3 separate regions of the Homo sapiens genome follow, and all the other regions are linked to region 2. The links are contacts of gene promoters, found by promoter capture Hi-C in blood cells and fetal thymus (Javierre and others, 2016). All regions are on one chromosome and are shown on one strand. The core of a region is centred on a gene start or on the middle of the fragment in contact, and the rest is flanking DNA. Distances in the headings are between cores, read along the strand shown. Region 1 overlaps CDH3 (cadherin 3). Region 2 holds the start of HAS3 (hyaluronan synthase 3). Region 3 overlaps CDH1 (cadherin 1).

Region 1 (4,898 bases), core at 113-2,612, 440 kb after region 2:
GGCCACTTTTCTCAATCCTAAAACAGCCCTCTTCCTAAGGGAAGATCTTTAGCCAGTAAAGGGCTAACCAGACAATTCTGTCAATTATTTCCTTTAAGGAGAGACTCAATGACTCCAATCCTCTCCCACCAGGTAACCCAGAAGGAGGCTAATGGATTGACTCCCCTACTACTCAGAAGACTTAATCCCCAAAACTCTGAGAGCTGCTACCGCCCACCCCCCCCGCCACCCCACCAGGAGCTAGAAATCCTCTTCCCGCTGTCTACAAAATCTGCTTCCCACTAGAGTGTACAACTCACTCTACTACCCTGTCTTCTGGCATATTTCCACTGTTACATGGTTCCACATATTTGTAGCACAGTATCTGGGCTGTGCATCTATTTGTAGAAGGGACAGTGTCAATAATCAAGGGGAAGCCAACGGTCATGTATTATAGGTGTATGTGCCTCCCACTCAGGGTGCATATTCCAGATACATCTGAGGAGCTGGCCCCATCAGCTCTAAACTGCTTTGAGTTGGGTACAGAGCACAACCAAGGGGCAATGGTCCAGACTGATAGGAATAAGCTTCAAACACCCACTCTGCTCAGGATACCCAGCTAAGTGTTTTCCTACCCAAATCCTCACAAAATAACCTGCAATGTGGTATTACTTCTCCCAATCTGACAACTCAGGAAACAAGAGGCTGCCAGGGGTTGAACTGCCCCAGGAAGCAGCAAGATCAGGTTTCAAATCCTGAAGGCAGGGAAATAATGAAGAATACGAAATTTGGAGTCCAGAAGACTTGGATTCCAATCCCTATAATGTCACTTATCTATCACATGATTGGGCAAATTGTATGATTATATAGAAGCTCAGTTTCCTCATCTGGAAAATGAAACAATACCTACCTCATCAGGTTATTAGGAAGATTAAATGGGATAGTGTTCAAACAGCACTGAATACTGTGCCTGGCCCAGAGTAAGTAAGGTAAGCTCTCAATAAAAAGGTACCTTAGACTACTTACAATTAACCTAGGCTTCTGACATCCACATCCTGGCCTCTTTCTATGTATACCATCGAAAAATTCTCTCTCAAAGTGGGAAGAAGTTAGCTACAGCTGTATGCTTTACTCAACGGATGAAGCTGATCAAAGATGGTGACACATGGGACCAGAGGGCACAATAGGGAACTGGCTCAGTCTGCATTTGGAGAGGGCTGTTTTGTAGGGGTCCTCTGTGGTTTACCAGAGGAAGCAGAAGACGGAGATTTCATGAAAAAGCTGGCCTTTCTAGGGAAACTTGCTAGGCACATGTAGGAACATGAGTAGTCTTCTCTGCAAGCTATGAGTCAAGACATAGTAAATGGTAAGCCCTGGGGCAGATCATTACAATTTCCTCCCAGATGCTTCCTGGCACCACTGGCTTGTATCACTAGTTTCATAATGAAACTGATACGAAACCAGGTCTCATCATCACTCATCCCTCCTTTACCCCATCTTTTAATAGTCAGCGAAGTAAACTGACTCCTGTTCCTAACTGCAGCATGGTTCCACAAGGCCACACATCTTGGCCAAATCACGGGGGCATGAATGGGCTTGCATCAAACTCTTTCTGGGGCAACTTGATGATGAGCACATGGGGCAATAGTTCAGAATTTAAGGCTGGAAAATGAAAGCCTAAACATAGCTCTTTCTTCCACACCCATCCAGGGCTTCAGACAGTCATTTGACCGCATTAGCCTCAGTTTCTCCCACAAGGATTCTGAATTACAAGGTCAATGAACCTGATGAAGAGGTGCCTGCTCTACCAATATAAATGGACAGCTTTTAGCACTGAGCCTAAATGTACATTCCCTAAAATACTGTCGGGGAAGGGAAAAAGGGAATCAGTAACCTGAGGCTGCTTCTAGAGAAATTAACAATTAATATCATAGGACACATTATAGGTAAAAATAAATAAAAAGAGAAATTAACAACAAAAAAGCCAGAGCTCTATGTATCTGCACTCGATAGAAGACATCCAATGGAAACCAGGAGTCTCTGGCCTATGTTCAAAGCTCCTCTCTAAAGATCATCCTGCCAAGCCTGGCCTCGGGTCCTGAACTGGCGCCACTAATAAAACTTGGGCAAGAAGAGTTTGGTCCCTGGGGTACTAGAGCTATTGGGAAAAGAAAGCTTTTTAAATAGACTTATAAGAATTGATGGATGCTGGGCTAAGAACTCATTCCTCTTATGTTCCAGGCCTGCTTTTAGGTTGGAATTTGCCTAGACACCTCCATACTCCCAAGGGAATACCCTTGAAGGTCAGGAGCTTGTCTCTTCCTGGAGGTGCTATCTGGTCCTGATGTCCAACATTACTGGATGTTCTGGCAAAATAAAACCACCCATCTTTCCGTAGACAAAATGTCCATCAAGTGATCACTCTCCACCAATTTCCCTACTGATCTCTGGGTATTTTGACTAGAGGAAAAGGAAAACATCATCTTAAACATATTGTGGCCAAAAGGCAGCCTGGGGAGTTGGGGGAAGAGATTGCCTAGGAAATTTCTATTCTAGCTTGCTTTAGGGACATACCTAGCTCACAAAACAAACAAATTTGTCCTTATAGCTATCACTACCTTCTGTTAAGGGATTGGGATAAGAGGGCACCGGGGAAAAGTAGGTGGAAGTGACTTGAAGAAAGATTCTGGCATTTTTCCTAAGTAAAACTACATATAGAAAAAAGTTCACCAACTAAGAAATACAAATTAAAAGGGCAAGTGCTGTGTCACAGTTGGGAACCGGGTGCTGCTATATATTGCTAGGGGTGGGGGAATATTAACTGGCACAACCTTTCTGGCAAATTAAAATGCCTTAAACAAGCCCATTGACCCAGGAATTGTGCCAAGATACCATCCCAGATGTGACAAAACCATACCTGCCAGGATGTTCGTGACTTGCTTAATAGGGAAAAAAAGCAAAAAAAGGTCTCAACAACCTAACTCTCAACAGAACAGTTAATTATGCTGTGCCACAGTCACCCAAATGCCTAATCTACAGCCTTAAATACTATAAAAGAAAACCTACCCAGGAAAAAGTATTTTGCAGAGGGGGGAAAAAAGCAGGTCATAAAGCCATTTATAGCATAAGGCTGACAATTATTATATAAAATATTTATAGTTTTATTCTTGTACCAAAAAGAAGAGAGAGAGAGGGGCTGAGCCCTGGTGCCAAGGCTGTGGTCTGCCTCTCTCCGTCACCAAGTATTTTCCACGCACAAGAAAACCAAGATGGTGGCCAGTGAGCCAGACCCGTTTTGAGGAGACCCACGGGAGAGGTCATAGGGCAGCAAAGTGGGGTGGGGGGAAGAGGCTGCACATGCTGGGATCCCAAGAGGCCTTGGGGCTCCTGGATTCACTTGGGACCCACCCCTGGGCATGCTGGGAGGCCCATTGCCCTTGCCTAGCAAGCTTGGGGCAGCTCTGCAAGGGCCTGCCAGAGCCCTGGGTGCACCTATTGGGTGTCCAGGCCTTTTTCCCCAGAGCTGTAAGCAGAGCAGCTCTTGGAGGGCAACAGAACCCAGGTGGAGTGCAGTTACACCTGGCGGATGGCACCCATCTATACACAGGCCCCCTGGACCTGGATCTTCTCACAGATAGGGCTGACGGGGTGTGTGAGGGCCTCAGCTTGCAGCCCTTCTCTGACCCAGCCAAGCAGAAGAGGAAGCTGGGATACTGGGGAGGCAAGCCTGGAGAGTGAGTGGTGAAATCATTCAGACTCGGGCCCTCTGCCTCAGATCAGATACCCTCAACAAAGACTCAGGTGGAAAGATTGGGAAATGGATGATTGATTTCAAATATTCCTTTGAAAAGACAAAGGTCCCGTATGGGTGGTAGGCCCCCATTTTGCCTTCCAGTTTTTCCACAGTAAACATGTATTTGATTTTCAATCAGAATTTGATGTGAGTTTTTCCCCCGACTAGAAAAATTATATGGCAACCCCATGTCGTTGAGGGTGGAGAAAGCAGTTCCAGGGGAGTTTTGGCTGACGAAAGCTCTGCTGTGTTCATCAAGTTCCTCATAACCCTTAGGAGGTGAGTCTTCCCTCCCAGAGTGAAACCCAAACTAGGCACTCTGAGAGTTTGGAACGCGGCTGACTCAGCATGAGGTGTGCTGTCTGGCTCACTGGCTACCATCCTCAAGGACCATGCCAGAACAAAGATCCCAGTGATCAACCTGAGACAGCTGTGGTAACAATTAAGGGTCTGGTAGGTAAAAGTGCTGTGTACTGGCTCTGCAGCCTTGCGTCAATCACTTAATCTCTAAACTGTTTAACAGTAAGTACTCAATAAATGTAAGCCATTTATTGCTGCTTAATTTCCAGTCTCTAAAATGGGAATACACACACACACACACCCCCAGGTGCTTGTTAGGGTCAAATATGATGTGTTGTGCTTTATATTTATTTATTTATTATTTTTTGAGACAGAGGCTAACGCTGTCACCCAGGCTGCAGTGCAGTGGCATGATCTCGGCTCACTTGAACCTCCCAGTTTCAAGTGATTCTCCTGCCTCAGCCTCCCGAGTAGCTGGGACTACAGGCACATGCCACCACACCCGGCTAATTTTTTGTATCTTTTGTAGACGTGAGGTTTCACCATGTTAGCCAGGCTGGTCTCAATCTCCTGACCTCATGATCTGCCCGCCTCAGCCTCCCAAAGTGCTGGGATTACAGGCATGAGCCACTGTGCCCAGCTGTGTTGTGCTTTAAAAAGCACAATAAAGTATTAAAAACCAGGGGCAGTGATTTAAAAAGCAACACAGAAGGACAGGAAGGTGAAGGCCATTCAGAATCCTAAGATAAGCAGAAAGTTTAAAAATAGGATCAACTGCCATAGAGGCAAGCATAGGAAATTAAATCCCAAATGCCATGCAGCTAGG
Region 2 (4,973 bases), core at 281-2,780:
CCTGCCCAGACCTGGGGCGGGGGGCTGTGTCACCCCAAGCCGGCAGAGGCTGTGGGGTGATCCTACAGCCTGGACCGCCGCCTCCTCATGCCCTTCGCTCATCCACGGGAGCCCAGCCCAGGCAAACTAACGCGCACTCGGCTTTCAAGGGCACAAGGTTGGGGGCGCTCTCAAGTCCGGCTCCCAGGACTACGGAAGGAGAACCCCCAGTCAAGGACGCACGCTTCTCCATCAAGCCTCCGAAACTTTGAGGGGCTGCTGGTGTGCAGCGTCTCTCCCGCTGACAGGTGCGCCCCGCGGCAGGGCCACACGCAGCGGCATGGAAACTTGTGCGCCCAACGGGGCTCCTCCTCTTGTGCCCGGCCGCCCTCCGGGCCCCTCCAGGCCGGCCAGGGGAGGGGAGCCCACTCCCCCGGACACGTGCTGCCGCGGCCCGGCTAACCCGCAGGAACGTGGGCGCCTGGTACCTTGGTGCCCGGACAGGTGCAAACCCCCGGGAGGTCGTAGAAGGTGCGGGGGAGGGGTACCCCAGCCAGCCTGGAGCCCCGCACCGGCGTCCGCCTCCTAATTCATTCACAAAACAGGAGCCGCCGGGGAGGAGGGAGGCGAGGCTGGAAGAGGAGAGGATGCAGGAAGAAAGGGAGGAGGGGTCAGTGGGGAGGGGGCTGCAGGAACGGCCGCCGGGAAGCCCGGGGCTGCCGCCGCCCCCAACCCGCCTCCCCGCGCCGGACGCGGCGCCCGCAGGGCTGGGAGCTGGCCGGGTGCGGGGGGCTCGGCGAGAGGCACCCCTGCCACCCGGCGCGCCCCGGCCTCGGCGCAGCCCCGCGCGGCCCTCCCCTCCTGGGTGCCGGCCGGCCCGCGCTCACCGTGCCGCCGGCTGCCGCGCTCCGGAGCTCAGCAGGCCCGCGGCGGCTCCATGCCCCTCCTCCCGCTCCGCTCCGCGCCGCCGCGCGCTCCGACTGCCGCCTGCCCAGCCGAGCCGCCCTTAAGTACCCGGCGCGTGCCCGCCAGGAGAGGCGCCTCCCCCGGCCCTGGGGCCGGGAAAGTTGACCAGAGTGGGAGGGCCCCCGCGGGCGCACCCCCGACCCCGCGCGGTCCCAGGGAGCGCCACAAGCCAGCGCTCGGCGGGGACGCCTAGTCCCGGGTGGACGCGGCTCCGGCTCGCAAGACTCGCAGCCCCTGCGCCCTCTCCGAAGCTGGGTCCCCCGAGTGGGGCCGAAGGCCACGCGGCTCTGCAATCGCCCTGGGACCAGCTGCCAAGGCAAGACGGTCATTGGGCTCAACCTAGAACCTGAAGCGTCGTTAACTTTCCAGATACCACGCAGGGACTTCCAAAATTGTTACTCTCCCTCCCCGCCCCCACGCCCCGCTCTCTAACCCGCAAAACCTACTCACCCTGCAAGGAAGGCGAGCTGAGAGCACTCTTCCCCGACTTCTGCACGCGAAGGGGCAGTTCGCTGTCTAGGGGGCTCCCGAAAGCCAAGGCAGCAAAACCTTCCTGCTGGCAGGAAAGAGGCGCTGAAGAGAATTGTCAAATGTAAAAAGGCTGGTCAAAGAAGGTGTTAACAATTGTGACAGCTTAGCTTTGAATTCCGCAGTGGGGCGCTGATGACTTTAAGGCGGTTTGCAAAAGCTGCAAACGGTTTTGTAGGAACCTTGGAGGTTCCGGTGTCTTAAAGCCAAAACAATTCCTCCTCTTCTTTTTCACACCTTTATTTCCGACATCCATGACCTCCTAAATTCCCAACTGACCTTATCGACAGTAGTTTTCAGGTCCCTAAAAGATAGTGCTAGACTCGAGTAAAGTGAGATGAAGTGAGTTGGGGTGCACTGGGGTGGGGTGAGATCGAGGAGGGGGGAGAGTTGTTAGCAGAGACAAGAAGTTTAGAACCAGCTGAAGGCGATGAGTTTTTACATCTCAGGAAAACTTGAAGAGAAATTATAATTAATAACTAGTTTTTAAAAAATGAGTGGCCGGGCGCCGTGGCTCAAGCCTGTAATCTCAGCACTTTCGGCGTTACGGGCACCATGCCCGTAATCCCAGCTACTCGGGAGGCTGAGGCAGGAGAATCGCTTGAACCCCGCAGGTGGAGGTTGCAGTGAGCTGAAATCGCACCACTGCACTCCAGCTTGGGCAGCAGAGCGAGACTCCGTCTCCAAAAAAAAAAAAAAAAAAAAAAAAAAAAAAAACCAAAAAACAGAGTTTACCTGTTTTCCAAATACACCTGATATAATTTCTATCACTTCTTCCCAAGCTGCAACAAATTTATAGGCACCTGAGCTGCAGTCTATAAACTTCTCCTCTCGCAAGTTTTAGGGGCTCAGGGACTTGCCTGCCCACCATTGCTCAGTCTGGGCCACAGACCTCACACCTCAGTCCCCGCAGGCAAGCAAAGACCCCAGGCACACCTACTCCACACAATCCCATCTTACATTATTGGCCAGGCACAGTGGCTCACACCTGTAGTCCCAGCACTTTGGGAGGCTGAAGATGGAGGATCGCTTGAGGCCAGGAGTTCAAGACCAGCCTGGGCAACAAAGCGAGACTTCCCCCGTCTCTACAAAAATTAAAATTAAAAAATTAGCCAGGGCCGGGTGCAGGCTCACGCCTGTAATCCCAACACTCTGGGAGGCCGAGGTGGGCGGATCACGAGGTCAGAAGTTAGAGACCAGCCTGGCTAATATGGTGAAACCCTATCTCTACTAAAAAATACAAAAATTAGCCAGGCATGGTGGCACGTGCCTGTAGTCCCAGCCACTGGGAAGGTTGAGGCAGAAGAATCGCTTAAACCCAGGAGACAGAGGTTGCAGTGGGCCAAGATTATGCCACTGTACTCCAGCCTGGGCGACAGAGTGAGACTCCATCTCAAAAAATAAAAATAAAAAAAAAAAGAAAAAGAAAAGAAAAGAAAAAAAAAAAAAACATTAGCCAGGCATGGTGGAGTGTGCCTGTAGTCCCAGCTACTAGGGAGGCTGAGGCAGGAGAATTGCTTGAGCCCAGGAGGTCAAGGCAACAGTGAGCTATGATCGAACCACTACACTCCAGCCTGGGTAACAGAACAAGACGCTGTCTCAAAAACAAATTCCTGGACTCCAGCAGCCCTTCCGCCTCAGCCTCCCTAGGAGCTAGTCCTATAGGCATGCTATCCAGCCCAGCTGCCAATGTGTTTTGAACTTCAGATGGCCTGAGGGGCCCTACCAGAGCCATTCCTACTTACACAAAGATGGAGAAGAAGCCTTAGGTTGGTGGAGGGGAGGGCTCTAGAGTCTGCCAGTAAGCCCCAGTGTCTTCATCCCACAGATGGGATTGCTAGGCGGACTGATAGGAAGTTTGAAGAGATTGGCTGAGGGTAAGCGCTCAGCAAGTGTTAGTAAACCAGACAGCAGCATCCTTTGCCCATGCCACGGGTTCTACATGGCCATCCCTCTAGAGCACTCAGTGACAGCAAGTTCAAGGATCAGTGTTTGAATAAAAGAAAACTGCCTGGCCGGGTGTGGTGGCTCACACCTGTAATCCCAGCACTTTGGGAGGCTGAGGCGGGTGGATCACCTGAGGTCGGGAGTTTGAGACCAGCCTGGCCAACATGGTGAAACCCTGTCTCTACTAAAAATACAAAAAATTATCCAGGTGTGGTGGCAGGCGCCTGTAATCCCAGCTACCCAGGAGGCTGAGGCAGGAGAATCACTTGAACCCAGGAAGCAGAGGTTGCAGTGAGCCGAGATCGTGCCACTGCATTCCAGCCTAGGCAACAAGAGGGCAACTCCATCTCAAAAGAAAGAAAGAAAGAAAAATGTCTTGTCTCTCTTGCATTATGAACCCTGGAGCCCTGGGCTACCTCCTGCACACCCAGAGGCATCACAGACCCCTGGAGTTGCTGCAGATGAGGATATCTCTGATCCTTCCTCCTTCCCAGATTTGCAATCTGCAACATCAGAGAAAATAAGCAGGGGCTTGGCAAGGGCAAAAATGAGTGCATCAGCCTGGTGGAGAGCAAACGCTCCGTTTAGAGGCTCATCTCCCTGTGGAGGGAGGGCCTCATGTGGCCAGGTGCTCTGTTGTCAAGAGAAGCCAGAAATCCAGATTTTGTATGTGAAATCTCCTAATTTTTTTAAGCATTGGTAATTCAAATGTTGAAGGAAACACACACACACACACACACACACACACACACACACACATGCACACTCCACAGGCCAGACATAATGTGTCTGAGTCATATCCAGCCAACTGGCTGCTTGTAAGTGACCTGTTTAGAAGCCCAAGGAATGGAGAAGCCAGTTTGGAAGGATCCCTTCCGTCCTCACTCAGCAGCAACATGACTTCTCTGGGTGCAAGTTTGTCTCCCTGGGGCTGGGCCAGGACCATCTCATGCCTAGTTAGTTTCTTAGACTCCAACTGTGTCCCAAGGCTTATTGCCCTTCTCACGCCGCCAGCTCCACGGAGTTTTCCAGGTGGTGGGGCTGGTTCAGCACAACCTCACGAGTCCATGAAAACCTCCTTAACCAACAGTGGGTCCAGATAGAACCTCATGAGGACAACAAACACCCTGCCTGTACCAATTAATTGGCTTTGCCCCCTAAATGGCCTGCCCTAGGGAGCACTCTCTTTTTTTCTGATCTGCAGGGCCAGGGACCTGGTGTTATCAGGCAGATAAGAGAGTCTTTACCTTTATGGCAGTCTATGCCAGGGAGGATTTGCCTGTAATTAGCATCCAGTTTGTGGTGTCCTATTTGCATTCATCCCTTCACGGGGAGGTGGGGAGGGGTTTCTTTAAGGGGCTGCTACAATCAAGCTCGAGTTTATCTCTGCTTACCACTGGGGATTTAGAAATAGGGCTAATTCCACACCCAATCACTTAAAAACATGAATTCAGATGTTGCTGAATTGGCTTTTCCACAGGTTCCAGAGGATAAATAAGCCTTCCTATTTGGCTCAGTAGTAGAAGATTCACGCTGCACTTACAACACTCATT
Region 3 (3,739 bases), core at 1-2,500, 280 kb after region 2:
CTTGCCAGCTGGACTTACTTAGCAAAGCAAGAATTCCTCCAAGAATCCCCAGAATGGCAGGAATTTGCAATCCTGCTTCGACAGGCTGTGCCTTCCTACAGACGCCAGCGGCCCCTTCACAGTCACACACGCTGACCTCTAAGGTGGTCACTTGGTCTTTATTCTGGTTATCCATGAGCTTGAGATTGATTTTGTAGTCACCCACCTCTAAGGCCATCTTTGGCTTCAAAATGATAGATTCTTGGGCTGGAGAAAGCAATAAAAAGAAATGATGAGACCAGGGGAGGAAAATAAAAAGCTCATTCCAGAATAAAATTGCTAGTGAACTAAAGACACCCGCAAGCCGAGTGAAGAGAGCAGAGCTGCTTGGGTTTTATTTAGGTATGTACTTTTTTTTTTTTTTTTTTGCTGTAAAAAGCTTTATTTCCATTTGGTCTAAGGCTTGGGAGAGGGCTCTAGAGTTGGTTTAAAAAAGCTGCCTAGTGGCTGGAGGGAGAGGCTTAGGCAGAGCGGGGCTCTTCAGATGTCGCTGGGTTCGGTAGGCTCCCGTGTGCCTGAGGGTGAACCTTTTTGCCCAGCCCGGCCTGGAGGCCGGCTGGCCTGTGAAGGTTGGTCAGGTGGTCACCTATCTTCTTGATGAGTTTTACTTTTTCATCTAGGAAGTGGCTCTCCAGGAAGTCACAGATATGGGGGTCTGTGCAGGTGGAACCCAAGGCATGAAGATCCAAAAGGGTCCAGTTCAGGTTCTTCTCCAGGGCCAGAGTGACTTCCATCGCACCCAGGGTTTTACCCCATTCATCTTTACATGGCTTCTGGATGTCCGGGAAGACAGTGCGGCCGCCACACTGGTTTTGCATTTTCAAGGGACACTCAGCGCCCTTGTGCTTCTCCTTGGCCAATTTGTGGAAGAAGTGGTGCACACCTTCCAGATCCACATCGTCATGGTGGAAATAGAAGCCCAGAGAGAAGTAGGTGTAGGAAGCCCATATATGCAAATTGACCAGGCAGTTGACAGCTGCCTCCACCTCGGTAGAATAGTTCTGATGAATCTGGGAGCTCACGATTGGTTGGCAAGAAGGAGCTAACCACAAAAATGGTGTTGTTTGGTCCCAGGAGCAGGAGGTAGCAGAGAAGATGGTCCTGGTTGCAAGTGGAGAGGGGAGTGGAGGGTGGCTAGAGGCTGGGAGAGGGAGCCCTGCTTGGGTTTTAGATTACTGGGTAGCATGCTACAAAGTTAGATACCAGGAAAGGAAAAAGACCTTTGGAGCAAGGCCTCAAAGACAGAAGGGACAAGGAAGCAAGTATCAATGGAAGGGGTGACATCTAGAAGTTGAGAAGGGAAATTGAAAGGTGGGGATCTGGGGGAAGGGAAGCATGGCAGTTGGAGCAAAGTTGCCAAAATAAAACTCAGGTACCCACTTGGGTCGTTGTACTGAATGGTCCAGTTGGCACTCGCCCCGTGTGTTAGTTCTGCTGTGAAGGGAGATGTATTGGGAGGAAGGTCTGCATCAATGATGTTTATGACCTGAGGCTTTGGATTCCTCTCACAGAAGAATATAGTTCGAGGTTCTGGTATGGGGGCGTTGTCATTCACATCAGACAGGATCAGCAGAAGTGTCCCTGTTCCAGTAGCAACTGGAGAACCTAAGAGAAAATACACAGAAAATGTGGCAGCTTGGCAACAGTAATGAATCCCCATTGCCTTCCACCAGACCAAGTCTAGATCTTGTCCTGGCTCTTCAGTGGTCCCTCACCAGGCCCCACTCCACCCGCAGAACCTCCTGTCCCACCAATCCCAAAGGACCTCCACTCCCAGGTGGGCAGGTCTCTGGCCGTTTTACACAGACAACTTATTCCCACCTTGATAACAATTATTCAAGTTATTCCTCACACCAAGAACACACTCCTCCTTCTTCACATATCGTTATTCATTCACTGAATTTTAACTACTCCAAGAAGTCCTATTGCCTGCCTGTTGTTTCCCTAGTTCTCCTTTTTCTGCACTTTCCTGCCATTTGAGGTCATTAACAAAGCATTGAGTCTTTTTATTTATTTTAATTTTAAGCCTGACTAGAAGCTTAAAATCAAAGGGGATGAGTTGGGTCTTTTGAAGTCTCTGCAAATTGGTTTTCAAAATAGATTGGGGAGTTCACATACGCTTTTTTTTTTTTTTTTGAGGCAGAGTCTCACTCTGTCACCCAGGCGGGAATGCAGTGGCATGAACACAGTTCACTGCAGCCTCTACCTCCTGGGCTTAATCTCCCACCTCTGCCTCCCTAGTAGCTGAGACTACAGGCGCATGCCACCATGCTTGGCTAGTTTTTAAATTTTTTTTGTAGAGAGGGGGTCTTATCATGTTGCTCAGGCTGGTCTTGAACTCTTGAGCTCAAGTGATCCTCGCATCTTAGCCTCTGAAAGTGTTGGGATTATAGGCGTGAGCCACTGCGCCCAGCCCATCCACACTTCTGTTTGCATTTCTTTTATATCTTGACACAACACGGAGCATATGGTAGTAGGAAAAATTGGTACCCAGGGAACTATCATCAATATTAGTATACGATACGGATACAAAACAACAGAAGAATCCATCTCAAACCTATAAATAGATATGTCTAGATGGCATGACTGTAAATTTTTAAAACTTTTTTCTCATGTAAATTTTATTTTTTAACAATGAGCACACGTCATTTAAAATTAACTCAAGGAGGCCAAGCATGATAACTCATGCCTGTAATCCCAGCATTTTGAGATTATGGGCAGTATGTTGCCCAGGCTAGTCTTGAACTCCTGGCCTCAAGCCATCTCCCACCTCAGACCCCCAAAGTGTTGGGATTACAGGTGTGACCCTAGCACCCAGCCTATAAATGTATTTAAATACACAGAAGCAGTCTGGAAGGACCCACACCTAACTGATTTAACACCTAACTAATTTCACCCACATGGGTATTAACATTTTTCAGGTAAAGGAATTGAGGGACATAAAAATTAAACAGCAGGCCAGGCACGGTGGCTCACACCTGTAATCCCAGCACTCTGGGAGGCCAAGGTGGGCAGATCACAAGGTCAGGAGTTCAAGACCAGCTTGGCCAATATGGTGAAACCCCGTTTCTACTAAAAATACAAAAAATTAGCTGGGCGTGGTGGTGCACACCTGTAATCCCAGCTACTTGGGAGGCTGAGGTAGGACAATTGCTTGAACCTGGGAGGCGGAAGCTGCAGTGAGCCAAGATTGCACCACTGCACTCCAGCCTGGGTGACAGAGCAAGACTCTGTCTCAAAAAAAAAAAAAAAATTAAACAGCAAATCCAAGGTCACACAAGTATTAAGCTTTGGAAATGGATTGTAAACCATCATTACCTGGTTCCCTTAGGGAAGGAATAAAGAGTGAGTAGTGAAAAGTAAGTTCTGTTTGACCAAAATTACTTGAAAAAACAATTTTTTTTTTGGAGACAGAGTCTTGCTCTGTTGCCCAGGATGGAGAGCAGTGGCGCAATCTTGGCTCACTGCAGCCTCCACCTTTCAGACTCAAGCAATCCTACCACTTCAGCCTTCTGAGTAGCTGGGCCTACAGGTGCTCACCAACACACTCAGCTAATTTATGTACTTTTTGTAGAGACAGGGTTTTGCCATGTTACCCAGGCTGGTCTTGAACTCCTGGGCTCAAGTGATCCTCCCACCTCAGCCTCTCTAAGTGCTGGGATTACAGGTGTGAGTCACCGTGCCCAGCCCACTTGAATTT

What was found. Contacts are between HindIII fragments. The CHiCAGO score rates a contact against its expected background, and 5 or more counts as called.
Region 1: a contact is called between a fragment that was not itself captured here and the fragment with the promoter of HAS3 in region 2, in 2 of 17 cell types (erythroblasts and M2 macrophages). The highest score is 6.1, in erythroblasts.
Region 3: a fragment that was not itself captured here is called in contact with the fragment with the promoter of HAS3 in region 2 in 1 of 17 cell types (megakaryocytes); the score reaches 6.1 in megakaryocytes.

Annotation. Positions count from the first base shown.
Region 1 is chr16:68,664,943-68,669,840 of GRCh38, reverse strand. All of the region lies in intron 2 of CDH3 (cadherin 3), which reads right to left. Among named protein-coding and RNA genes, the nearest start is that of CDH3-AS1, 21 kb to the right of the region's middle. The HindIII fragment of the contact is 1,588 bases long and covers 569-2,156 here.
Region 2 is chr16:69,102,210-69,107,182 of GRCh38, reverse strand. HAS3 (hyaluronan synthase 3) reads right to left here and starts at 1,530. Exons shown (of 4, transcript NM_001199280.2): 1 at 1,396-1,530. RefSeq lists a silencer at 904-1,183 and an enhancer at 1,317-1,865. The HindIII fragment of the contact is 7,234 bases long and covers 1-4,973 here.
Region 3 is chr16:68,819,906-68,823,644 of GRCh38, reverse strand. CDH1 (cadherin 1) reads right to left here. Exons shown (of 16, transcript NM_004360.5): 12 at 1,420-1,644; 13 at 19-246. It also overlaps the pseudogene FTLP14. Among named protein-coding and RNA genes, the nearest start is that of TANGO6, 22 kb to the left of the region's middle. The HindIII fragment of the contact is 1,659 bases long and covers 421-2,079 here.